7 separate regions of the Homo sapiens genome follow, and all the other regions are linked to region 1. The links are contacts of gene promoters, found by promoter capture Hi-C in blood cells and fetal thymus (Javierre and others, 2016). All regions are on one chromosome and are shown on one strand. The core of a region is centred on a gene start or on the middle of the fragment in contact, and the rest is flanking DNA. Distances in the headings are between cores, read along the strand shown. Region 1 holds the start of AQR (aquarius intron-binding spliceosomal factor). Region 2 has its middle 3.4 kb from the start of EMC4. Region 3 overlaps SLC12A6 (solute carrier family 12 member 6). Region 4 overlaps SLC12A6 (solute carrier family 12 member 6). Region 5 overlaps SLC12A6 (solute carrier family 12 member 6). Region 6 overlaps NUTM1 (NUT midline carcinoma family member 1). Region 7 overlaps DPH6 (diphthamine biosynthesis 6).

What was found. Contacts are between HindIII fragments. The CHiCAGO score rates a contact against its expected background, and 5 or more counts as called.
Region 2: a fragment that was not itself captured here is called in contact with the fragment with the promoter of AQR in region 1 in 12 of 17 cell types (total CD8 T cells, non-activated CD4 T cells, total B cells and 9 more); the score reaches 15.8 in total CD8 T cells.
Region 3: a contact is called between a fragment that was not itself captured here and the fragment with the promoter of AQR in region 1, in 9 of 17 cell types (total B cells, total CD8 T cells, naive CD4 T cells and 6 more). The highest score is 9.1, in total B cells.
Region 4: a contact is called between a fragment that was not itself captured here and the fragment with the promoter of AQR in region 1, in 1 of 17 cell types (non-activated CD4 T cells). The highest score is 5.8, in non-activated CD4 T cells.
Region 5: a contact is called between a fragment that was not itself captured here and the fragment with the promoter of AQR in region 1, in 7 of 17 cell types (total CD4 T cells, total CD8 T cells, naive CD8 T cells and 4 more). The highest score is 7.6, in total CD4 T cells.
Region 6: a fragment that was not itself captured here is called in contact with the fragment with the promoter of AQR in region 1 in 1 of 17 cell types (naive B cells); the score reaches 6.2 in naive B cells.
Region 7: a contact is called between a fragment that was not itself captured here and the fragment with the promoter of AQR in region 1, in 7 of 17 cell types (naive CD8 T cells, total CD8 T cells, total B cells and 4 more). The highest score is 8.7, in naive CD8 T cells.

What each region holds. Positions count from the first base shown.
Region 1 is chr15:34,967,825-34,971,277 of GRCh38, reverse strand. It overlaps AQR (aquarius intron-binding spliceosomal factor), which reads left to right and starts at 1,536. Exons shown (of 35, transcript NM_014691.3): 1 at 1,536-1,739. The coding sequence starts at 1,665. RefSeq lists enhancers at 1,433-1,542, 1,593-1,742, 2,911-3,453. The HindIII fragment of the contact is 5,969 bases long and covers 1-2,561 here.
Region 2 is chr15:34,219,899-34,223,351 of GRCh38, reverse strand. No RefSeq gene overlaps it. Among named protein-coding and RNA genes, the nearest start is that of EMC4, 3.4 kb to the left of the region's middle. The HindIII fragment of the contact is 1,993 bases long and covers 757-2,749 here.
Region 3 is chr15:34,237,304-34,240,756 of GRCh38, reverse strand. SLC12A6 (solute carrier family 12 member 6) reads left to right here. Exons shown (of 26, transcript NM_001365088.1): 19 at 1-96; 20 at 1,597-1,792; 21 at 2,356-2,525; 22 at 3,207-3,338. Among named protein-coding and RNA genes, the nearest start is that of EMC4, 14 kb to the right of the region's middle. RefSeq lists an enhancer at 752-1,951. The HindIII fragment of the contact is 3,743 bases long and covers 82-3,453 here.
Region 4 is chr15:34,256,004-34,259,456 of GRCh38, reverse strand. SLC12A6 (solute carrier family 12 member 6) reads left to right here. Exons shown (of 26, transcript NM_001365088.1): 5 at 513-644; 6 at 1,669-1,815; 7 at 3,174-3,228. Among named protein-coding and RNA genes, the nearest start is that of EMC4, 33 kb to the right of the region's middle. RefSeq lists a silencer at 1,743-1,943. The HindIII fragment of the contact is 4,736 bases long and covers 1-3,453 here.
Region 5 is chr15:34,330,327-34,333,779 of GRCh38, reverse strand. The region is part of intron 2 of SLC12A6 (solute carrier family 12 member 6); the gene reads left to right. Among named protein-coding and RNA genes, the nearest start is that of SLC12A6, 5.7 kb to the left of the region's middle. The HindIII fragment of the contact is 5,371 bases long and covers 1-3,453 here.
Region 6 is chr15:34,352,551-34,356,003 of GRCh38, reverse strand. It overlaps NUTM1 (NUT midline carcinoma family member 1), which reads right to left. Exons shown (of 8, transcript NM_001284292.2): 5 at 2,132-2,268; 6 at 1,272-1,558; 7 at 867-983; 8 at 1-516. Among named protein-coding and RNA genes, the nearest start is that of NUTM1, 11 kb to the right of the region's middle. RefSeq lists an enhancer at 1,034-2,233. The HindIII fragment of the contact is 1,664 bases long and covers 833-2,496 here.
Region 7 is chr15:35,541,369-35,544,821 of GRCh38, reverse strand. It overlaps DPH6 (diphthamine biosynthesis 6), which reads left to right. Exons shown (of 9, transcript NM_080650.4): 2 at 2,315-2,409. Among named protein-coding and RNA genes, the nearest start is that of DPH6, 3.1 kb to the left of the region's middle. The HindIII fragment of the contact is 1,882 bases long and covers 767-2,648 here.

The DNA.
Region 1 (3,453 bases), core at 287-2,786:
ACAAACAAACACACCTATCGTATAACCCAAATATTTCACTCCTAAGTATTTAAGAGCAAAGGAAGTATATGTCCACATGAAGACTTATACACAAATGCTCATAGTGGCTTTATTTGTAATAACTGAGAACTTGGAACAACTCAAATGTCTATCAGCAGATGAATAGTTTATCAAACTGTGGTATATCAGTAAAATGGAACGAATGTTAAGCAATAAAAAAGGAATGAACTACTGATACATGCAACAACATGAATCCATCTCAAAATCATTTCGTTGAGTGAAAGAAGGCATGCACTGTATTATTTCATTTATATAAAATTCCATGAAAAGCAAACTATAGTGACAGAAAGCAGATCAGTGGTTGCCTGAAAAGTGGGTGGGAACAGTGAAAGGCACAGATAGCAAAAGTTCACGAGGAAACTTTTAGAGGCTTTGATATGCTCATTATGATTTTGGCAATAGTTTCACAAATGTATGTTCATGTCAAAACGCATCAAATTTTACAACCTAAATATGTGTGGGTTATTGTATGTGAATTATTTTTATTATTATTTTATTTTTATTTTTTGAGGCTAGTCTCGCTCTGTCACCAAGCTGGAGTGCAATGGCGCAATCTCGGCTCACTGCAACCTCCGCCTCCCAGCTTCAAGTGATTATTCTCCTGAATCCGAGTAGCTGGAACTACAGGCGCGCGCCACCACGCCCGGCTAAATTTTGTTTTTTAGTAGAGATGGGTTTTCACCATGTTAGCCAGGCTGGTCTCAAACTCCTGACCTCAGGCAATCGGCCAGCTTCAGCCTCCCAAAACGCTGGGATTACAGGCGTGACTACCGCGCCTGGCTGGGTTATTGTATGTCAATTTTTACCTCCATAAAACTGTTAAGGCCTGTAATCCCTGCACTTTGGGACCCTGAGGCAGGCGGATTACCTAAAGTTGGTGAGTTCGAGACCAGCCTGACCAATACGGAGAAACCCTGTGTCTACTAAAAATACAAAAATTAGCTGTGCATGGTGGCGCATGCCTGTAATCCCAACAACACGGGAGGCTGAGGCAGGAGAATCGCTTGAACCCGGGAGGCAGAGGTTGCTGTGAGCCGAGATTGCACCATTGCATTGCAGCCTGGGCAACAAGAGCGAAACTCCGTCTCAAAAAAAACAAAACTAAACTAAAACACTGTTAAGGGCAGTTAAAACCCAGCCCATATTCCCAGGCTGTTTTTTTTGTTTTGTTTTGTTTTTTCTTTAGGGTTGAAAAAAAACTAAATCCCCATTCACCGCACACGGCACTCTTCACTAACCACGAGAAACCCCACCCAACACCATCCACCGGGTCCCTCCCTTGCCCTCCTAATCCCGCCAGCGAGGTGTCTTCTCTCTGCCGCCCGCTAGAGGGCGTGTACAGAGGAGGTCAAAGCTCTTGGCTCGCTAGCTCAGCCCCAACGCCTGCATGAACTTCCGGCTACACGCCATTCCGCTTCCCGAGGAACGCTTGGGCTGTTGTACGGGTTCCCTACGGGACTCTGAAGGCTGAGGATATCCGGCCCGGAGCGTTTGTGCGGCGCGGAGTTAAGCGCCCCGGCAGTAACTTAAGGGAAGTGGACCAGGGTTGCCGCTGCCCAGAGCGGTCCTTTAGTTTCCACTGGAGTGGAGGGAAGAGTGCTGCCATGGCAGCCCCTGCGCAGCCCAAGAAGATCGTGGCCCCTACGGTGTCCCAAATCAATGCGGAGTTCGTGACCCAGGTGAGCTCGGGCGAGTCTGGTGTGTGTGAGTGGGTATGGACGTCGTGGCCCCGAGGCCTGGTGGTGGGGTTTTTTTTCAGGATTTAGGAGTCCGGAGGAGGCATTCGTTTGTTAATTGATTCACACACGTCTTTTTACTGAGTATCAGCTCCGTGCCGGCCACTATGCTAGGTGCTGGGCATACCGTGGTGAAAGAAGCTGCCCTGCCCTGGGGAGTTCATGGCCCAAGGAAGACAGACGCATGAAAATAAAACTACTGTATGAGTTTTGCTGTGTTGGAGTTTGTCTCAGGAGCAATGGATTCAGAGAGGAGGGAACACCCCAGTCTATCTGAGACTGGCAAGTAGGCTTCGCAGCAGAGTGATGCTGGACTGCCTCTTCAAGTAGGAGTAGGCTTTTTCCTGGTCCTTAGAGTGTCCTGAGTTTTTGAGCAGCGATGAGAAACTGACAAGACACCTCCAAATAGACCTATCTAAAAACAGAGTAATTCTGTAGTTTGAGAGCGTTCATTTAGAATCTGTTTACTATCTTGCATTGTGAGCCACAGTTGGCTTTGGATAGGGAACCACAGTCCTGTGGTTGTCAGCATCATTCCTCATTCTTATTATTTATTTGTGAATTGCATAAGAGTGTAAGTAGTTCAATGTAGAAGTTATCATGCCCACCTGCTTCTTTATTCTTTATTCCTTGTCTCAACAGATTTGCCAGGGCAGAAGCCTAGGGAGTGATTTTGAATCCTCCCTTTCCCTTAGTCCCTACATTTCTACATTCTAAATATCTTTTGAATCTATCTGGTGTTCTACATCTCTGTCACCCTAAGCTTGGTTGCCATTGTTTTCTGCCTGGACCAAGGTATCGTAATCTGTTATATTGTCCTTCCTCTTGCTCTGCTCTAGCCCATTCTTCATGTTGCTTTCCGAGTGATTTCATACAAGTGCAAATCTCATCATATCACTTGCCTTCTTAAAATTTCTGCCTTCCGGCCGGGCGCAGGGGCTCACGCCTGTAATCCCAGCACTTTGGGAGGCCGAGGCGGGCGGATCACGAGGTCAGGAGATCGAGACCATCCTGGCTAACACGGTGAAACCCCGTCTCTACTAAAAATAAAAAGAAAAAAAATTAGCCGGGCATGGTGGCAGGTGCCTTTGGTCCCAGCTACTCGGGAGGCTGAGGCAGGAGAATGGCGTGAACCCGGGAGGCGGAGCTTGCAGTGAGCCGAGATCGCGCCACTGCACTCCAGCCTGGGCAACAGTGCGAGACTCCGTCTCAAAAAAAAAAAAAAATCTCTTCCTTCCTTTCCTTCCTTTTCTTCTTTCAAGATAGGGTCTCACTATGTTGGCTGGGCTCCAGTGAGCCTTCCACCTCAGCCTCCCTTGTAGCTAGGACTACAGGGACTACACTAAGGCTGGCTGTCCTTAAAATCTTCAGCCGGGCGCGATGGCTCATGCCTGTAATCCCAGCACTTTGGGAGGCCGTGGCAGGTCGATCACCTGAGGTCGGGAGTTCGAGACCAGCCTGACCAACATGGAGAAACCCTGTCTCTACTAAAAATACAAAAGTAGGCAGGCTTGGTGGTGCATGCCTGTAATCCCAGCTACTCGGGAGGCTGAGGCAGGAGAATTGCTTGAACCCGGGAGGCGGAGGTTGCAATGAGCCAAGATCGCACCATTGCACTCCAGCCTGGGCAACAAGAGCAAAACTCCGTCTAAAAACG
Region 2 (3,453 bases), core at 504-3,003, 750 kb after region 1:
TTAAATTGTTTCCTGTTTTCCTTCCTTTTATAACCAGTGTTGCTGTGAACATATCTGTATGTCTTTTCTTATTTCCTAAAGTTATAGTCCTAGAAGTGAAATTGGAGTTGCTGGATCAAAGAGTATGCACATTTTTAAAGAATTTTCATTTTAAATGCCCACAGGAGCCAGGCGTGGTGGCTCACACCTGTCATCCCAGAACTTTGGGAGGCTGAGGCAGGAGGATTGCTTTAGCTCAGAAGTTCAAGACCAGCCTAGGCAACATAGTGAGACCTTGCCTCTGCAAACAACAACAAAAAAAATTAAAATGTCCACTAGGAAAAATGGCACCATTTACATTTCACAGTCTATAATTTTTTTAATAGTTTGAAATGGTACTGTATTATTTTTTAATTTGTATTTCTTTGACTCCAAGTTATTCGATATGGCTGGAGTTAGGGGGAAGGAGATGCTGTGGGAGGTAAGGTTGAAAAAGGCTTCCTTGGCCAACAAAAAAGTTGGGACTCTTGAAGATGATGATGATGTAAGAGAGGCTGAAGATTGCCACCTCCACTTTATTTTCTGATTTTAAAAATATGTGTTCATAGCAGACTACTTAAACAAGGCAGAAATGGAAGTCTTTTGCCTCTCCAATCCATCCTAAAATGTGTATCTATCTGATTGTAGGAAGACCTAACTATAGATTGTGTTTCTGCTCCTTTCTACTTTTTGTCTTTACCACGTTCTGTCTCATGAACCTTATATTTATCTCAAGCTTCTGACCCTATTGGGCATTCTTCTTTGTTGCATTATATGCTGCATAATAGCACTTACCACATTGCATTTTGTTTGTTAAAGTCCCCTGAGCACTTATTTCTACCCCTCTATAGGCAACCCTAAATCCCCCCAGGTCAGAAGCTATATATTATCTTTGAGCCTGTTGCCTAGAACATAGAAAGTACTGAATAAATGTTTAGCGAATGTGAGTAAATTAAATTGAAAGTAAACAAACACCAAGATGTGAATGTACTATAACTACACTTGTGCAAAATAAAACATAAAAATGGATATACATTCTATTGGGGCAATAATTTTCACGCAATTTTGTCTAATTTTCAAGATAATCTTATTACACTTTTCTTTTTTTTTTTTGAGACAGAGTCTCACTCTGTCACCGAGGCTGAAGTGCAGTGGCACGATCTTGGCTCACTGCATCCTCTGCCTCCCAGGTTCAAGCAATTTTCCTGTCTCAGCCTCCTGAGTAGCTGGGATTACAGGTGCCCGCCACCACGCCCTGTTCATTTTTGTATTTTTAGTAGAAATGGGGTTTCACTGTGTTGGCCAGGCTAGTCTCAAACTCCTGACCTCAGGTGATCCACCCACCTCGCCCACGCAAAGTGATGATTACAGGCATAAGCCACTACACCTGGCCTTCTTATTACATTTTAATACTTTTTTTTTTTTTTTTTTTTTTGAGATGGAGTCTTGCTCTGTTGCCAGGCTGGAGTGCAATGGCGCAATCTCGGCTCACTGCAACCTCCGCCTCCCAGGTTCAAGCAATTCTTCTGCCTCAGCCTCCCAAGTAGCTGAGACTACAGATGTGTGCCACTACGCCTGGCTAATTTTTGTATTTTCAGTGGAGACAGGGTGTCACCACATTGGCCAGGCTGATCTCGAACTCCTGACCTCGTGATCTGCCTGCCTCAGCCTCCCAAAGTGCTGGGATTACAGACGTGAGCCACTGCTCCTAGCCACATTTTAATAATTTTTTTTTACTTACTATTTTTTTGAGACAGGGTCTCACTGTGTTGCCCAGGCTTGTCTCAAACTCCTGAGCTTAAGCAGTCCTCCCGCCTTGGCCTCCCAAAGTGCTGGGATTACAGGCATGAGCCCACACCTGGCCCTGCTTTAATAAGTTTTAAATGAACACTTTTGAAAACATTAAGTTAGTCATTGGAATCATATATTCTTTCTACTTAAATACTCCCCTACTTGCTATAAAAATGTGTAAACTATAACCTAAATTAAAGTTGCTTTGGGCTGGGTGCTGTGGCTCACGCCTGTAATCCCAGCACTTTGGGAGGCCAAGGCAGGTGGATCACGAGGTCAGGAGTTCAAGACCAGCCTGGCCAAGATGGTGAAACCCCGTCCCTACTAAAAGTACAAAAAATTAGCTGGGCGTGATGGCAGTCATCTATAATCCCAGCTACTCAGGAGGCTGAGGCAGAGAATTTCTTGAACACAGGAGGTGGAGGTTGCAGTGAGCCAAGATTGTGCCACTGTACTCCAGCCTGGGGGACAGAGCAAGGCTCTGTCGCAAAAAAAATAAATAAACAAAAAATAAAAAGTTGCTTTGGCCTCAGTGGGAGTACTCTGGATCATTTATTTCTTTATCCTAGGAATCCTCATAGTATTATTTGTGAAACTCCGTTCCAAAAAATGAACACATCAGGACTAGGCTGAGGATGGTTCCAAGATTAGATAAATTTGAGAAATTCTACATATTATATTCTGCACACACACTCAAGAGAGTCTTAGTGCCGTTAGTATAACATATGAAAACAACAAGAAATGGTTTGGTAAAGAATCTCCTTTAATTTTGTTTCCCAATCTACTTGAGTAAGGAACCAGTTTTTTGTTGTTTTTTTTTCCTTAATACATTCGTTAACATCCAATAGAATCAGTGTTCCACAGAATACAGTGAGGGCAGCTGCTCTATATGCATGCTAGAATTCTTCAGGAGAAAGATGAAGGTCTCCCCTATAAAGCTTTGCTTGTTATTTTTAAAATATTAGAAGATCATTAGAAATAATAGGTTATTTATGGAAATGGAGCTTCAAGTTGGAATTAAAGTTTTAAAGTTTTTGCACAAATTTTGTTTCGCAAGGAAAAGAAAACTAGTGTAAGATTTTCCAGGCCTGGTGTGGTGGTTCACCCTTGTAATCCTTGTGCTTTGGAAGGCTAAGGTGGGCAGATCGCTTGAGGCCAGGAGTTTGAGACCAGCCTGGGCAATATGGTGAAACCCTGTCTCTACAAAAAATAAAAAATCAGGCTGGCAAAGTGGCTTGTGTCTATAGTCCCAGCTACTTGGGAGGCTTAGGTGGGAGGATCACTGGAGCCCAGGAGGTCAAGGCTGCAGTGAGCCTAGATCGTGCCACTGCACTCTAGCCTGAGAAACCTGGATTTTAATCCTGACTCCAAATGAACTACATGATTCACTTTGAATTAGGGACTCTCTTGACTTTAATTTCTTCATCTATAAAATAAGAGATTTATACTAGATGATTTCTAAGGGTGCCTTCTAGTTCTGAAATATATCATACTCGTTTTAAAAAAAAAACATATAAAGTGTACTATTCTTTCCATGCATATACACCCGAAAAAAAACACTCAGTAATAGACACTCAAAGGAGTAATGGGATTTCAGATAATTTTTTAAAATCGTGCCTTCCTACAGTTTTCCTAGGTCTCTGC
Region 3 (3,453 bases), core at 704-3,203, 730 kb after region 1:
TCACAGCTCAAAGCAGGAAAAGGTCTCACTATTGTGGGCTCTGTCATCGTGGGGAACTTCCTAGAGAACTACGGTGAAGCTTTAGCTGCTGAGCAGGTAAGAGTCAGGCTTTTGAGGTATTGGAACTCAGTTTACAGCTTTGTGATGTTAAGTAGTAAGACCTCAAACTTCTACTTGAATCTTGTTCCTGAGTGATCTAGGAGGTTTCTCACTTAGTGCTGACCTTTGAAAGGACACTTTTTCCCAAATAATAAGATGAGCCAAAAATAGTTATTTATTATTTCTTCCTGTTTAAAGCATTACTAAATTATAAGATTATTAAGTCTAAACCTTATGTTCAAATATACTCCAAACATTAATCTAAGCACTGAGAAAAGTCATGTAAATAAATTGATCCCTTGAACTATGGAGAGGGTTCCTCTCAATCTTGTGACAACAAGGAGTAATGACCAAATTTTCTTCCTCTTTACTAATCTACGTGGTATCATGAGCAAGATTCCTTTGCCACTTCTGGTTAGCTGTATTGAACATTAAAGTTCTACTTTAACAAGGAAGTTGTTTTCACTCTAATACTTATTATATATGATAGAACTAATCCTATTGTTTTTGAAATGCCATTGTGTTCAATGGCATTTCAAAAGTTTTACTGTGGGGGGAGGGGGGAAGGATAGCATTAGGAGATATACCTAATGTAAATGACGAGTTAATGGGTGCAGCACACCAACATGGCACATGTATACATATGTAACAAACCTGCACGTTGTGCACATGTACCCTAAAACTTAAAGTATTTAAAAAAAAAAGTTTTACTGGATTTCATTTTGGAATCCTTTGAAATCCTAAACACTAGAAATGCTGAAGAAACATTACTCCAGAATGATGGTAAAAATTAATAAAAGGTACACAGGATTGAAAATCAGGAGAGCCTAGTTCTTAGCCGCATCACTGATTTAATCTGTGCCTTTGCAAAAATCATTCCATTTTCCATACCATTATTCCCAGGGTGGAGTAAGAGTAAATGAGATGATATCTCCAAATTGGTTTGACTAAATAAAGGAAGAGTAATGCAAATACAAGTGTCATGAATAATCACCATTAAAATGTCAAAAAGCATATGGGAATGGGAGAGGCGAAAAAGAAAACATACCTGAGAAAATTCTAAAGTGAAACTGAATCATCATACTGAGTTTCTGGTAAGATGAGTCAGGGCATGACTGGGGCTGAGGCAGGAAGGAGATCGTGTTCACAATAGTGAATCACCCTGGTCAACTGAGAAAGAATGTTGAATATTCACTTTGTAGAGATCCCTGTTCCCAGTTTTTTGGTATGGTGCAAAGGAACAAAAGCAGAACAGAGGAAAAAGCAGAGAAACTACATGTAGACAACCAGCTACAGAGGCAAAAATACGTAGTAAGCAAAAAGACAAAAGATCATGAAATTCCTTTGGGATAATTTTAACTTTTTGGACTTTTCTGTAGATGATATAGTATTATGAAGACTTTGGAAAAAGGTGGGGGATATAATATGGAGAAGGAACAATGGGTTAAAATGTCCAGAGTGAACCAGTTCAGTGTTGCGGTCCTGTGTCTCTTTCAGACCATAAAGCACCTAATGGAGGCAGAGAAGGTAAAAGGATTCTGCCAGCTGGTGGTGGCCGCCAAGCTGAGAGAGGGCATTTCCCACCTCATCCAGTCATGTGGCCTTGGGGGCATGAAGCACAACACGGTGGTGATGGGCTGGCCTAATGGCTGGCGTCAAAGCGAAGATGCCCGCGCTTGGAAGACTTTTATTGGTACTAACCATTTCTCATACAAACCTAAAGGCCCAAGTCGAGGGTATATAGTTAAATCTCTGTCACCCCCAGCCTCCTAAAGTAGAGACTATGCCATTGCTGAAGCATAGTCTTATAAGGCAACCTGAAAAACTATTGGTAGTAATACCCAGATTCTACCTACCCCCTTCAGCTTCACATTATGTTCATGAATTATTTCTGTCAAGTCTTGTGCTAGGAATTATCTCCAAAATTGCCGTGTTTTCATTTGTGATTTTCCATATTGATGTTCTCACAGGAATTGCAAGAATTGTTCTTCAGCATCATAATCTCTCAAATTCACATATCCCCCCTTAGAAATGTAGTAATGGGAATATACCTAGTAACATAAACTGTGGTTCTCAGTCTGTTAGCTATTCAGATTTTTCACAATGGTTTTTGATACGTAATGAGAAATAACCTACTAAGTAAATAGGACCCCTTGCTCAAAGAAGTGTGAAAAGAGCATTTCCTTGCTTTCCTGACATGCTAGGAAGCAAGGCAAGCCTAAGGATTCTTCTCTGCTTATTCTTTTTTCTCCCTAGGCACAGTTCGAGTGACAACTGCTGCCCATCTTGCACTGCTGGTGGCTAAAAACATCTCCTTCTTTCCCAGCAATGTGGAGCAATTTTCTGAGGGCAACATTGATGTGTGGTGGATTGTGCATGATGGGGGGATGCTTATGCTACTACCATTCCTACTGAAACAGCACAAGGTATTTTATACAACTTTTTTTTTACAAAAGTCTTTCTCCCTTCTGTCCTGGTTCACAGGACAGACAAATTCTTCCTCTGATTATAATAGTGTTGGGGTTTAGAATCAGAAGAGTTGGAAGTTATTCTAGGCTTTCCCATGATCCCACTTTCAAACAAGAGAAATCATTGTCTTTGTATTTGATACCTACTTATCTCCAAGTGAAATTCAGCCAATTAATAAAGTTCCATATGAGCCCTAGGGGAAAACAACAAGTGAACACATCTTTTTTTAAAAAATACTGAAAACTTAAGGTATATGTATATGTGTGTATTGCACGCATATATGCGCTCATTCCGTGGTAAGACTAATTAAATGAGATTTAAAATAGTAAATATATAGTCTGCATGTTGTCATTGATACACTGTCTGAATAAAGTACCCTCTTAACGTATCGTGAACCATCTTTTCTTTTGCCAGTGTTTTCTTGTTATGAAATTAAGGACTCCTTAAAACTGTATTAAATGTGGTGTTTAGTCAATCTTTTGCCCTAATACAATAACATAGCAAGTAGGAAGCTAGGAACAAATAGCCTTATACTACATATAGCAAGGTTCTTCTAGACCACAATGTCTAATGTCTTAGGAAATAACCTTTTTTGCCTCCTTGCTCTAATTTTTCACATGTGTATGTCACTCTCTCAGGTGTGGCGAAAGTGCAGCATACGGATCTTCACAGTAGCCCAATTAGAAGACAACAGTATCCAAATGAAGAAGGACCTAGCCACCTTCCTATATCACTTACGCATTGAGGCGGAGGTAGAAGTGGTGGAGATGGTGAGAAAGCTGAGTTTGAGATACAAGAGGTTCATTCCCCCATTCCTCTCCCTGTCTTCCTTGAATCTTTTCTGGTTTGGGAAATTTTTCAGATCTAAATGTGGATTAATCCCCT
Region 4 (3,453 bases), core at 652-3,151, 710 kb after region 1:
GCTGGTCTTGAGTGCCTGGGCTCAAGCGATCCTTCTGCCTTGCCCTCCCATAGCATTGGGTTAGCAGGTGTGAGCCACCATGCCCAACTCAATGTACCAATTTTTTTTTTTTTTTTGAGATGGAGTCTCCCTCTGTTGCCCAGGCTGGAGCGCAGTGGCGCGATCTCGGCTCACTGCAACTTCTGCCTCCTGGGTTCAAGCTGATTCTCCCGCCTCAGCCTCCCGTGTAGCTGGGATTACAGGCACGTGCCACCACACCCAGCTTATTTTTGTATTTTTAGTAGAGACGGGGTTTCACCATCTTGGCCAGGCTGGTCTCAAACTCCCAGCCTCAGGTGATCCAGCCACCTTGGCCTCCCAAAGTGCTGGGATTACAGGTGTGAGCCACTGCACCCGGCCTACCTGTGAAATATTTTTTCATTTAATTTGAAGTTTTCTGGTAGCAAGATTATTTTGATACTTATGTTCAGTGTTCTTTGTAGCTCATTTCTTCCATGTCACTGGCTTTATAGGAAGAAATGGACACCAGACCGAAGGTGTCTTCCCTCCTCAACCGCATGGCCAATTACACTAATCTGACTCAAGGAGCAAAGGAACATGAAGAGGCAGAAAACATCACTGAAGGGAAAAAGAAGCCCACCAAGGTGAGGCCTCAGAATAACAAGGAATACATAGAAAGAGCCCTGTATATAAGAAAGAAGGAAATACCTAAGGCACCATTCTGTGTTCAGCAGCTATTTATTAAATGCTTGAGAGGTGCCTGGAACTGTTCTGGGCACCAGCGTCATAGCACAAAGAAAACATATGATGCAGTCTAAATTCTGATGTGGGGATACAGTCCTTAAGCTGTTTTAACTGCCAAAGTATATAACATATTAAGTGTTGATAAATTCCCGAGCAAAAAATTAAGCAGAGTAGAGAGACTGAAATTGGCAAGGGATCCAGAGTGGAGGGCGTTGCTACTTACATAGGTTGGACAGGGAAAGCCTTTCTGACAAGGTGATATTTGAGGAGAGATCTAGCTGATGGGAGGGAGTGAGCTATGTGGGAAAAGAGCATTCAGGGAGAGGGAATAGCTTTTCAAGAGAAGAGTGTCCATACCCATCTGCTGATGCCATCTGTCTGTTGTGAAGTTGTTGGGTTTTTTAAACACCAAACATCAGTTTGTCTCAAAATGAAAATATAAGACATTCAGTTTACCATTCTGGTTGTTCAGCCCTTTCAAAAAGGGATAAAACGGCCCTCAGATCTTCATTTTGCCATCTAATTTATTTACTAACTACTGTGAAGAATTTATGCCAAATTCTGAAGAAATTCCATCAAGTCCTTATTGTTTTTAAATGAAAAAAGCCAACAGCTTTGAAAAACAAAATTTTAAATTGTTGTGGGTGCACATAAAAGTTTATTTGTGGCCAAATGCCTATGTATAATAAACACATGCAGGAACCTTTGTAAAGTTAAAATATATAGCTTTAGGAATAATAAAAGTATGGTGATAAACACTTGAAAGATGGAGATTTTATATGTGCCCTTTTGAAGGTATTGATTAAACTTATGATTTCTGCTTGGAGGTTAATATGGTAGTTAGGGAGCAAGTTATTACATAAAAGAATAAAAACCTCTCTTTAGGATAACTGTGTGATTTTTTATCAATGTCTTTCTTTCTAGACCCCCCAAATGGGTACCTTCATGGGTGTCTACCTCCCATGTCTACAAAATATTTTTGGAGTGATCCTTTTTTTACGCCTTACATGGGTGGTGGGCACAGCTGGAGTTCTTCAGGCTTTTGCAATTGTCCTTATCTGCTGCTGCTGTGTAAGTACTGCACTGGCTCCTAGAGATCACCTGAACGTTGCAAGTTCTCAAGAGCAGATGCACATGACCTCTTTGGGAATAAAACAAAGAATACTTAGGGAAGGACTCATGATCTCAACAGAAGAAATTATTCTGATATTAAAATCTAAAGGATTTTCAGTTATTCAGTGCCTGTTAGTCACTGCTTGCTATCTATTATATGATGTACTAGAAATTACAAAGCAAGACTTCAACTGAAAATGGAAGATAAAGTTCCTGTCTTCAGAGAATTCAGAATCCAAACTATTTGAGCTTGATAGCACCAAAGTTGTGACAGAAAATGTGTTAGAAAATGTGATGTATCACTCCAGTATATATTGAGAAACAAGACAGGTTATTGCGGATGTGAGGGGTATTTGGTTTTTTTATTTGGTTTTGAAGTTTCTTCCCTTATCCCTTCCTTAGAAATTTAGATGTTCTTTCCAGGTCTTCTCTCTACTGAGAACATTTTTATCTTCCTTTAATTTAAACTTCTCATTATGTATCCCAGACACACCTATGAATTTTATAGTTTTCTACTGTCCTTTTTTATCACTATGACCTTTATACCCTACCTGTATATTATCCCCAGCTGATGAGCAAAACAGGTTAAGCAGGCACAGTTCATATTTTTAATAACTTAAAATGTTCATGGTACCACCTTTTTTTAGTCTCAGGCTTAAAACCTCAAGGCTGTGTTTGGCTTCTTAATTGCTTTTCACATCTAATCAGCTACCAACGCTAATCTATTCTCTGAAATCTTTTACACTCAGCCCTTTTTATTCACACTACCACCACTATAGTTTTTACCTCTCACTGAACTACTATGGTAGCCTGCTAACCAATCACTCGGCCTCCAGCTACTCCTATCTGCAGCGCATTCTATACTGTGCTACCGGGTAATATTTTTAAAATGCGGTTCCTGTGTGCTCAGAAGCCTTCAGTGATTCCCTTTCTTACTGAACATTGTTCTTGATATTGTATTTAGTCTTTAGTCAGGTTCTAACCTATTTTCTGAGTTATTTCTCTAGTTCTTCCTTTTGAGTATACTATGCTCTATTTCCTGTGTAACTAGGAAATCCAGAGTGAGATTAGCAGTTCTTAATAGCACCTGACCTACTGATGTGGGAGCATTTTGACAGAATCCTCCAGATATTAGTGGTATGACTAGCGCAATGAATTGGACCATATCATCTTATTTCCATACCATTAGGTATGACTGTCCATAAAAGTAGGTAGAGTTAAATGTTTGCCAAGTGCTCTTGGAACACAAATGGAGAAGTAGTATAGAAATGTCATCTTTACACAGTAACAATCCTCTCCTTTCCTTTTCTCTGCAGACAATGTTGACTGCTATCTCCATGAGTGCCATTGCCACTAATGGAGTGGTGCCAGGTTAGTAGGTCAAGGTTGTATTTCAGGATTTATCAGTGTTGACTCTGTGTTTATGCTATAAAGCTAGAGGTGCAAACTTCTGAAGAATAGAATACTATTTGGTCTGTTCTGTGCTACAACAGAGTAATGGTCTATAGGACGTAGACATAATACTACTTGACTTTAAGATGCCGTCTTTAAAATCTCTTTATTTTTTAAACTAGAATGCATTAATTTCAGTCACAT
Region 5 (3,453 bases), core at 492-2,991, 640 kb after region 1:
GTTTTAAATACTTATTTCAGTATATTTTAATTTTTTCTGCTGTTGGCTTTCTGAGTAGTTTTCTTTCTGCTATCAAAGTAATTTTTCTTTCATTTTGGCAAGGCTCCATTTGAATTTATAGGACTGTCCAGTTGGTAAAATCAAGAATCTTAGCAGTGTATTAGCTTATGTATGAAGAACGCCTTAAAGATACAAAAGAAACTGTTGAGAGTGGATGCCTCTGGAAAGTGAGTTACAAAAATAGAGTGGAGCCAGGCACGGTGGCTCACGCCTGTAATCCTAGCACTTTGGGAGGCCGAGGCGGGTGGATTCCCTGAGCTCAGGAGTCCGAGACCAGCCTGGGGAACACGGTGAAACCCTGTCTCTACTAAAAATACAAAAAATTAGCCAGGCGTGACGGCGTGCGCCTGTAATCCCAGCTGCTCGGGAGGCCTTGACAGGAGAATTGCTTGAATCCAGGAGGCGGAGGTTGCAGTGAGCTGAGATCACGCCGCTGCACTCCAGCCTGGGTGACAGAGCGAGACTCTGTCTCAAAAAAAAAAAAAAAGAAAAAGAAAAAAAAATAGAGTGGAATTTTCTTTTACCAAAACAATTAAGGGCATATACAACTTTTAAGTATTTATAGTGTATCACTTTTATAGTAATTTTTTTGAAAAGCACCACATGTTAGAGCTAATGATCTAGAATCTTATTCTGATCAAACCACATTTTAATAAGTGAGGAGACTTAAAACCCCAATAGATTAGACTAAAAAAATAACAAAATAAATGAGGAAACTAAGGCTTATAGAGATGGTTATTTGTAGATCACAAAGTGGCAAAGCCAAGACTGAAGTTCAGGCCTCCTGACTTTTATCTAGTGCTCTTTCTTGCATCATTTTGCCTCTGCTATGATGAACATTTTTTACATGTGCTTTATAACCATGTGGCTATAAAACATATTTTTATATGTCATTTGCAGGACCTAATACTTTTTTTCTTTTTCTTTTTTTTTTTTTGAGGCAAAGTCTCGCGCTGTCGCCCAGGCTGGAGTGCAGTGGCGCTATCTCGGCTCACTGCAACCTCCACCTCCCTGGTCCAAGTGATTCTCCAGCCTCAGCCTCCCAAGTAGCTGGGATTACAGGCATCTGCAACCACACCCGGCTAAATTTTGTGTTTTAGGAGAGATGGGGTTTCACCATGTTGGCCAGGCTGGTCTCAAACTCCTGACCTCAAATGATCCTCCTGCCTCGGCCTCCTAAAGCTCAGGGATTACAGGTGTGAACCATACACCCTGCCTGCAGTCCCTAATACATTTCAACCTTTTATAAGTCAACAGATACTCCCTGAGACGCTGGTATGTATGAGGCAGTCTGGTATTAATTGTAGGAAATATACAGGTAACATATAGTTTCTACCTTTGCAGATCTCATGGTATAATGGTGAAAATGACTAGAGCACTTTACTTATTCCTTCACCAAATATTTGTTACTCTGAGCAATGAGTTAAGGATAAGGCACTGGCTGGCTGTTAAAGATGTTGGGTGTTAAAGACAGAGAAAAAGCATCCGTTAATCTGTTCTAAGGAAAGTTATGATCTAATAGACAAAGCAAACACATTTGTATATAAATTATAATGCTGTATAAGTCCAACAATAGAAATATGCAAAAATACGGCAAAGGAAAATGATCAACTAAGATAAAATAGAGACACTTAAGAGACTGGAGGACTTGATAAGGTAAAGTGTGGTGAAAAGTGTAGAAAGATTAAAGACTGTGGTCAGACGGTTGAATGTTGTTGGAGTGAGCAATTTCAGAGGTAGAGCATTTCTCATGTAATGTGATCTAGTGTGTAGCCTTGGAGTGGGTTTCTGAAGTGGAGAGTTGAGGTCTAAGTGTAACAACTTTGAGACTGGCTGTTAACCAAGTTTTTGTGAGAGATGTTAGAGACATAAAAGTAATTTAGATAAGTCCTTTCTTTAAGGAGTCATGTCCTCTCTGAAACCTTTTCTGATTGAACCCCATATCCAGATATAATAAACCAGGCTCTTTTTGTCCCTATATTGCTATAATACCTATATCACTATATTTTGTTTTTATTTACATATTATCTTTCTCAACTATGCTGTAGGGTTCTTGAGGACAAGGATACAAAATCATTTACACCTAGTGTAATATGTGATATCACATATAACTTGTACACCATAAATATACATTGAGTTGAAGATCTTGTAGACTTAAAAACAAGAGACAAATTAAAAACGTACTCTGATAAAGGCATATTAATGTATGTACGAGAGTAGTGCTACTTCATCTGGCTGCATAATGAATGATCTAGAGAGCTTTTCAAAAAATGCCTCTAGGCTGGGCGCGGTGGCTCACGCCTGTAATCTCAGCACTTTGGGAGGCCAAGGCGGGCGGATCACTTGAGGCCAGGCGTTCGAGACCAGCCTGGCCAACATGGTGAAACCCCGTCTCTACTAAAAATATGAAAACTTAGCCAGGTGTTGCGGTGCATGCTTATAATCTCAGCTACTCAGGTGGCTGAGGCATGAGAACCTGGGAGGCGGAAGTTGCACTGCAGCCTGGATGACAGAGCGAGACTCTGTCTCAAATAAATAAATACCTCTACCCTGACAAACAAAACCTAACAAAAAACAAAATTATCATTTTTAGTCACACACCAAAATAAGTGAATTATATTGTTTTGCTAATCATAGGTGACTATTACTTATTATTATTATTGTTATTATTATTTTTTGAGACAGAGTCTCACTCTGTCGCCCAGGCTGGAGTGCAATGGTGCGGTCTCCACTCATTGCAACCTCCGCCTCCTGGGTTCAAGTGATTCTTCTGCCTCAGCCTCCCCAGTAGCTGGGACTACAGGCACGTGCCACTACACCCAGCTAATTTTTGTATTTTTAGTGGAGATAGGGTTTCACTATGTTGGCCAGGATGGACTATTACCTTTCTCTTAAATAAGTCTTCTATATTATATAATTATTGAATACTATCCATGTTTTACCTCAGCATTCTAATAGCTAAAATATGTTGATTTGGTACCTTCTTAGCTTGTCTGAAAGAAGCATCCTCTTGATAGTTTTGTTTTTTTTGTTTTTGTTTTTGTTTTTTTTTTGAGACAGGGTCTCATTCTGTCAACCAGGCTGGATACAGTGGTGTGATCACGGCTCACTGCAGCCTCAACTTTCTGAGCTCAAGCAGTCCTCCACCTCAGCCTCTTGAGTAGATGGGAACACAGGTGCACACCACTATGACCAGCTAATTTTTTTTTTGTAGAGACAAGGTTTTACCATGTTGCCCAGGCTGGTCTCGAACTCCTGCATTCAAGCAGTTAGCCCACCTCAGCCTCCCAAAGTGCTAGGATTACAGGCGTGAGCCACCGCGCCCAGCTGGTTATATACCTTAACTGTTTTTCCTCTCTTCTCTATACTCTGTAGCCAGATTAAACTTTATAA
Region 6 (3,453 bases), core at 415-2,914, 620 kb after region 1:
ATCCAAACTGGGAGTGCTCTCAGGCTGGAAGCCTCCCTGCCAACAAAGGGGCAGAGCCTCTGAAGTCCTATCAGCCACCAGGCAGTGCCCAGGAGGCCCAGCGCCTCCTAGATGGCCATCCTGATGTAGAGATACCTGGTTTATAACCTTCCCAGACCCTCTCCTCTCCACACCCAAGGGTCCCGGAGTTCCCTGTGGAGCTGCAAGTTCTGGCTGCAGGTCCCAGCTGCTGGGGGATGGCAGAGTGTTCCCATCCCTGTGCATCCCTCTGGGGCTATCTAGGGCTTGCTCCTGCCCACCATGCACTTCTCTTGCCCGTTTTCCTGAAGAAGAAACCTTTCCAAGGCAAGCGGCGCCCCCAGCCCCCTGAAGCCCAGGTGAGGGCCGAAGCCGCCCATCCCCATCTTCATCCTCAACAGAACCAGAAGGACTTGAGTCCAACTGAGCGCCACTGAAACTTGGAGGCGCCTCTGCATCTTCCTCCTCTTCCAAGGCCATGAGTCGCTTCTGGACCAGCTGAAAGAAATGAACAAATAGTCAGTTCTATACGTGGTTGTGAAAGAGGTGGCTGAGTGGGTGGCACAAGACGGTATTTGGGCAGGGCAAGGAAGGCAAGCAAGTAGTTTAAGCGATGGTAGCAAAGACAGATACTGCAGCTCTTTCCCACCTTCTTGTGCCTTATTCCCATGCTTTGAGCCCTTACATTCTCATTTCCTGTGTTTCCATAGCCCTCTACCTACTCGTTCTGCACCTGAAGCCCAATCCTGAAGCTGTTCATCTCTAGAGCCATATCACCCACGACAGTGTAGGGTTAGATAAAATCTTGCAAGCTTCTCGTTCTCATATTTCCTATACCCCAGTTTTACCTGGGCAAGAGTGAGTCCTTCTTCTTGCTCTAGCTCCTCAATTAAGGCCAAGGGATCTCTCTGTTTTTCTGGGGACAGCAGATCTGCCAGAAATTGAGGGTGAATGACAGCCTCCACCTGGATAACAGAAGGAAAAGCGATGTAAGTCTGTAAGCAGGTAACCTGTGAAACAAGGGGCTTTACAGAAGAAACTAAGAGCTCCCCAACTCTCCCCTCTTACCCCTCCGGTATTGTAAACTGACCACCACCGGCTACACACATTCTCATGATGATGCATGCACACACATTACTCAGTTATAGAATAAAACCTAAGTCCTACTGCATTGGACAAACCCCAGATCATTAGTTCCCGGGAGTACCCACCCCAAGGATCTGCTAGAAACAAGATGTGCAGGCCCAGCTCACCTTGGAGACAAAGACCTTCTGAGAACACAGCTCATTGATGTAGCTCAGGAGACCTGGATCTGGATACATCCCTTCCTCCTCCTGCTGCTGCCCTTCTTCCTCTTGTTTTCCATCTGACTCCCCAGTGGCCAAGTGAGTCCCCACCAGCCATTCCATGATGTCAACATACTCCTTCACAGCTTCTGGTGGGATCTCCTTGGGTGCCTCAGGAGCAGGAGGTCTCTGGGCTTTACGCTGACGCCGGCGGGGGGCCCGTGTCTTGGAGGCTGCCTTCTTCGGAATGTACACTAAGGGAAGAGATGGACAGGAGAATGGGAAGTAGCACAGAAACCACAGATTCTGCCTCCTTCGGAATGTACACTAAGGTAAGAGATGGACAGGAGAATGGGAAGTAGCACAGAAACCACAGCTTCTGCCTCCCAGCTCTGTAAGCTCAGCAATCTGGGTACATTGAAATGGTTCCAGGCTGGATTGGGCCAACCTGAAAAAGCGCCAGCCATGGGAGATTTAGGACCTAGAGGGTCTAAGAATCACTGTATGAGGAATTTTGGAATCCCTGAGATTCCAAGAAACCCCCTAATCCAGTCCCCATTTCTTAGGCAGATGAGGTATTATGTGCTGAATTTAGAGTCTCGGTGAGAGTAGTCAGTTTACTTCACCAAGATCAATACCTAGTTCAGGGCAAAAGGAACCTGAGAACCCAGCCTCCTATGGGGTGGTCTGTTTGGAATATCAAATGCCACTCTCCAGAGGGAAAGTGGCAGAGCCTGGGCTATGCCTTCTCTAATCTGTGACTGGCTTCTGTATGCATCCCTTTGAGCCTTTGGCCCACGGCTCCTGTCAAAATTGGGTAGCCTCACCTGGCTGCTGGCAAACCTCAGAGGCCAGGGGCCCTAGAGGATCAAGTTTCAAAGGGGTTGCAGGAGACAGGCCCTGAGACCCATTCATCAGCTGTGTGTTCTGAATCTGCATCTCCTCAGCCTCAAACTCCATGAACCTGCAGAGGGTGAGAAAGGCATAGGCAATGCTGAGAAGGAGACCAGACCCATCAGAAATCCAGACGACAGCCAAGCATGGCCAAGAAAGGAAGTGCTCTCAGGTGGGCAAAGTCTGCCTAAGTCATGTCACCCAGGAGGGTGGTCACAGGTGGCTTAATCGTATTTCCAGGGAAACTTCAGGAGCTCAGCACATAGTTCCTTCCCCTATAGTCATAACTTAGGAAGCTTAAGAAAATGAATGGCCAGGTGGGGTGGCTCATGCCTATAAACCCAACACTTTGGGAGGCTGAGGTGGGCAGATTGCTTGAGCCCAAGAGTTTGAGACCAACCTGGGTAACACGGCAAAAACCCATCTCTACAAAAGATACCAAAAAAATTAGCCAAGAGTGATGACGCGCGTCTAGTCACAGCTATTGTGGGGCTGAGGTGGGAGGATCGCTTGAGCTCAAGAGGTGAAGGCTGCAGTGAGCCATGACAGTGCCACTGCACTCCAGCCTGGGCAACAGAGTGAGATCCTGCCTCAAGAAAATTTTTAAAAAGTAAAGAATGAGGCCAGGCGCAGTGGCTCACGCCTGTAACCCCAGCACTTTGGGAGGCTGAGGCGGGCGGATCATGAGGTCAGGAGTTCGAGACCAGCCTGGCCAACATAGTGAAACCCCGTCTCTACTAAAAATGCACAAAATTAGCCTGATGTGGTGGTGGGTGCCTGTAATCCCAGCTACTCGGGAGGCTTAGGCAGGAGAATCACTTGAACCCAGGAGGCAGAGGTTGCAGTGAGCCGAGATCGTGCCATTGCACTCCAGCCCAGGCAACAGTGTGAGACTTTGTCTCAAAAAAAAAAAAAAAAAAAAAAAAAAGTTAAGAATGATCTAGAGCTTGTAAACTTCTCTTGGACACAGTGAGGGCTTTCAGTACTTGTTTTTGTTTTTGAGACAGAGTCTCACTCTGTCGCCCAGGATGAAGTGCAGTGGCCCAATCTCGGCTCACTGCAACCTCTGCCTCCCGGGTTCAAGTGATTCTCCTGCCTCAGTCTCCTGAGTAGCTGGGACTACAGGTGCGTGCCACCACGCCTGGCTTTTTTTTTTTTTTTTTGTATTTTTAGTAGAGACGGGGTTTCACCGTGTTAGCCAGAATGGTCTCAATCTCCTGACTTCATGATCCGCCCGCCTCACCCTCCCAAAATG
Region 7 (3,453 bases), core at 458-2,957, 570 kb before region 1:
TAGAAGTATTGGAGGGGAGGAGAGAAGATTGGTAGAGTCAGTTACACTAAATAACCTGTAATGTGCATATGTTGCTTTATAATAAAAAAAGTTTGCTAAAAAAGCAATGTTGGAAAATTCTTGCTGAAGCGTAAGAGCTGTAAGGACATATGCTGTAAGTATGAATACGTAAGCATTTACCTGTATGCTTATGATACAGATGCCTATGTATTCTATATATATGCATTATATATAATTATGTATTATAAGTGAATAAGTGAAACTGGGATTCTTACATATCTTTCTAAGAAGATTATTTTCCTTTTTTAAATTTTTTTTTTATTATACTTTAAGTTCTGGGTTACATGTGCAGAACGTGCAGTTTTTTTACATAGGTATACATGTGCCACGGTGGTTTGCTGCACCCATCAACCCATCACCTACATTAGGTATTTCTCCTAATGTTATCCCTCCCCTAACCCCCAAACCCCCACAGGCCCCAGTGTGTGATGTGCCCCTCCCTGTGTCCATATGCTCTCATAGAACATTATTTTTCTAATAAATAAATGAGTCTTTGAATTTTATAGTTGAATGTTATTTTGAGGATTATCCAGGCAGACCATTCATTAATTTGCAATGAAGTATGCAAACCTAAGCACATTGAATAACTTAGCTTAGTATCCCAGAGTTGGAAACTAAAATAGAGCTGTGAGACCTCTCACCTAACATACATGTGTACTTAATGGAGTTCTAAGAGGACAGTAAGGTACTCTGCATTTCCCAAGCTTGTCTGATATTCAAAACCTTTTGTTAGAGTAATTGGTTAGTATTTTGTTGGACACCAGTGTTCCACAGAACACAGTTTGGTAAATACTGCTTAAAACCATATTTGAAATGTTGGCATATTTCAAAATAAATTGTCAGACTCAGTTCTGATTCTGGATGCACACCCTTCAGTCTTTAATATCTGAAACAATTAGTCATATCTTTTTATCCTGGGGAATCAGAGCAGTAAGGTTCGATATGGGAAGTTGTGGAAGACCTACTTATGGGGATACCGAACCTGAAGAGAGGAAGAATGGACTTTTTAAAACTTCACTTTGGCCCTTGTGCTCTCCTTCCACTTGAGAAGTTTTGGAATGAGAGTTGTTATTGATGGGAGGGTGGAAGAGGCAGAAATGTTGAAAACTAAGATAAAAGGCAACAAGGCCAGTTTCTGAGGTGCTCAGTTTCTTGAGCTATGAAGAGGTCTAAACATTGCCTGGGGATTTGCAGGCCTTAAGCAAATATTGGAAAGAAGGGAAACAGGAGGAAAAAGAAATGTAAAAGGGAGAGAGGCAATGATAAATGATAGTGGGAATTAGGAGAATATTAAATTACAATAGCATATAGATTGCCATTCAGCCATATTATAGATGAGCTACTGCTTGTCTTTACTAAGTGATATGCGTCTGCCTTAGGTAGATTTAGAACCAGAATTTAGAAGTTCCTTTCAATGTGTTACTACATTTATAGCTCAAGCCTAGTTCTGCTGCCATCATATATATATATATATATATATATATATATATATATATATATATTATGTGTATGTGTGTACTATATGTATGTGTAGAGATGGCTGAAGTGCTGATAGTGCTGATGTTTCACGTCATCAGTGTAAGTCAGCATCTTGTTTTTTATCTCTGCAGAATTTGAACCCACCAAGTGTGTCAAACTTTGTCATTAGCTAGGTACTCAAATCTTTAATTTGATCCTTTAATTGCTGATGGTAGCCATTTGTTAGATTTCTTATGGTGGAGCAGAATTTGTTTTTTTTTTTACTTTCTCATAGAGAATAGTTTTTTTTTTCCCAATAATTTCTATGAAATTATTTTATATATATATATATATATATTCCTTAAGTGGAATAATATATATTATATATATTCCTTAAGTGGAATAATATATATTATTATATATATTCCTTAGGTAGAATATATATATTTCATATATAATTATATAATAAATGTTTAGCTGGGATGTAAATTGAAATCATTTTCTATTTGCAAATCACTTCAAATATATTTGCTATCACAAAGCAAAAAGTTACCATATTTTGTTTAGAATATTCTTATATATATATAGTTTCTTAAGCTCCTGTGAGTAGCAGCCCTAGACATTCAGATTCGGTTGCTCAGTTTGTTTATGATTTAGAAATTAATGGGTTTTTTTTGCATTGTAATATATTCTGAAGAGTCAAGTAAATGATATGTTCTGTTTTGATATCTAGTGATTTTATGTTGAATAATGGTCAGTAGCATGATATTTGTCCCTCTCTTGATTTATTGTTTAGTGGTGGGAAGGACAGCTGCTATAATATGATGCAGTGCATTGCTGCTGGGCATCAGATCGTTGCTTTAGCAAATCTAAGACCAGCTGAAAACCAAGGTAAGTACATGCCTTTATTGGGAAGTTGCCTAAATGAATGAAATTCCAACTTCATAATTACATTGTACAGGTATACCGTACAAAGATGAAAAAAAAAGAACCAATAAATATTAAGCACCCATTAGATGCTAGTTTCCACCTAGAACTTAGCATTAAGTGTTTTCACTTACTTTTTAATTCTCATAACCAACTTCTATAGAGATGCACTATTAATCTTAATAGACAGGGATCCTGAAGCTTAGAGTTTGTCTGAAGTAAACTAGCACAAACTTGTAGAGTTAAGACTTGAACCTTCTTACTTCAAAGTACACTACCATTTTACCCCACCACATTCCCAAGTACTGTAGGCAGCATAGAGGTAGATAAGATACAGTCTCAGGCCTCAAGGAGCTTGAGAAGTAAGACACATATTGATAAATGATATATTAATTTTATTATTAAAAGGATACAGTTTACCTATTTTAGATGTAAGCCAGAAATGTGAGACTTGAGAGAAGCATAAAGCAATGCATTCCCACTTTTCATTTGTCTGTAGTAACAAGGGCATCCACATATAATTCACAGACCTCATATTGACTACTTTTTTCATTCTTTTCTCCAATGAAATATCCCCAATTATAGCTTTTGAAAAAAGAAATATATTCACCAATTTGCTTTTTAATGCTATTGTGTTATACCTATGAAACTACAGATATTAACTGCTAAAATGTAAGAGGGAAAAAAGATTAGCACTTTTGTGACTTTTGTATTACTGCTTCTCACAGGACTTTTCTAGTAAGATCTTTTTATTCTCTCTTTTACTTCTTTCCAGGCTCCATGTTTTTGCACTGTTATTTTAAGATTAATTAAATGAGTGGTGTATGTGAGAACATCAGTCGTAGTTCCTGTCATGAAGTAGGCATTCTGTAAATTTAGCTGAATTGGAATCTAGCTAAATACTTGTTTTATATCTTTAAATGGATTGATTATAAGCTTCTTGAGAAGAGAGATCATATCTTCTATCTTCCTTTTATTGCTCCTCATCACTTGGGCCGGCTCTATGCC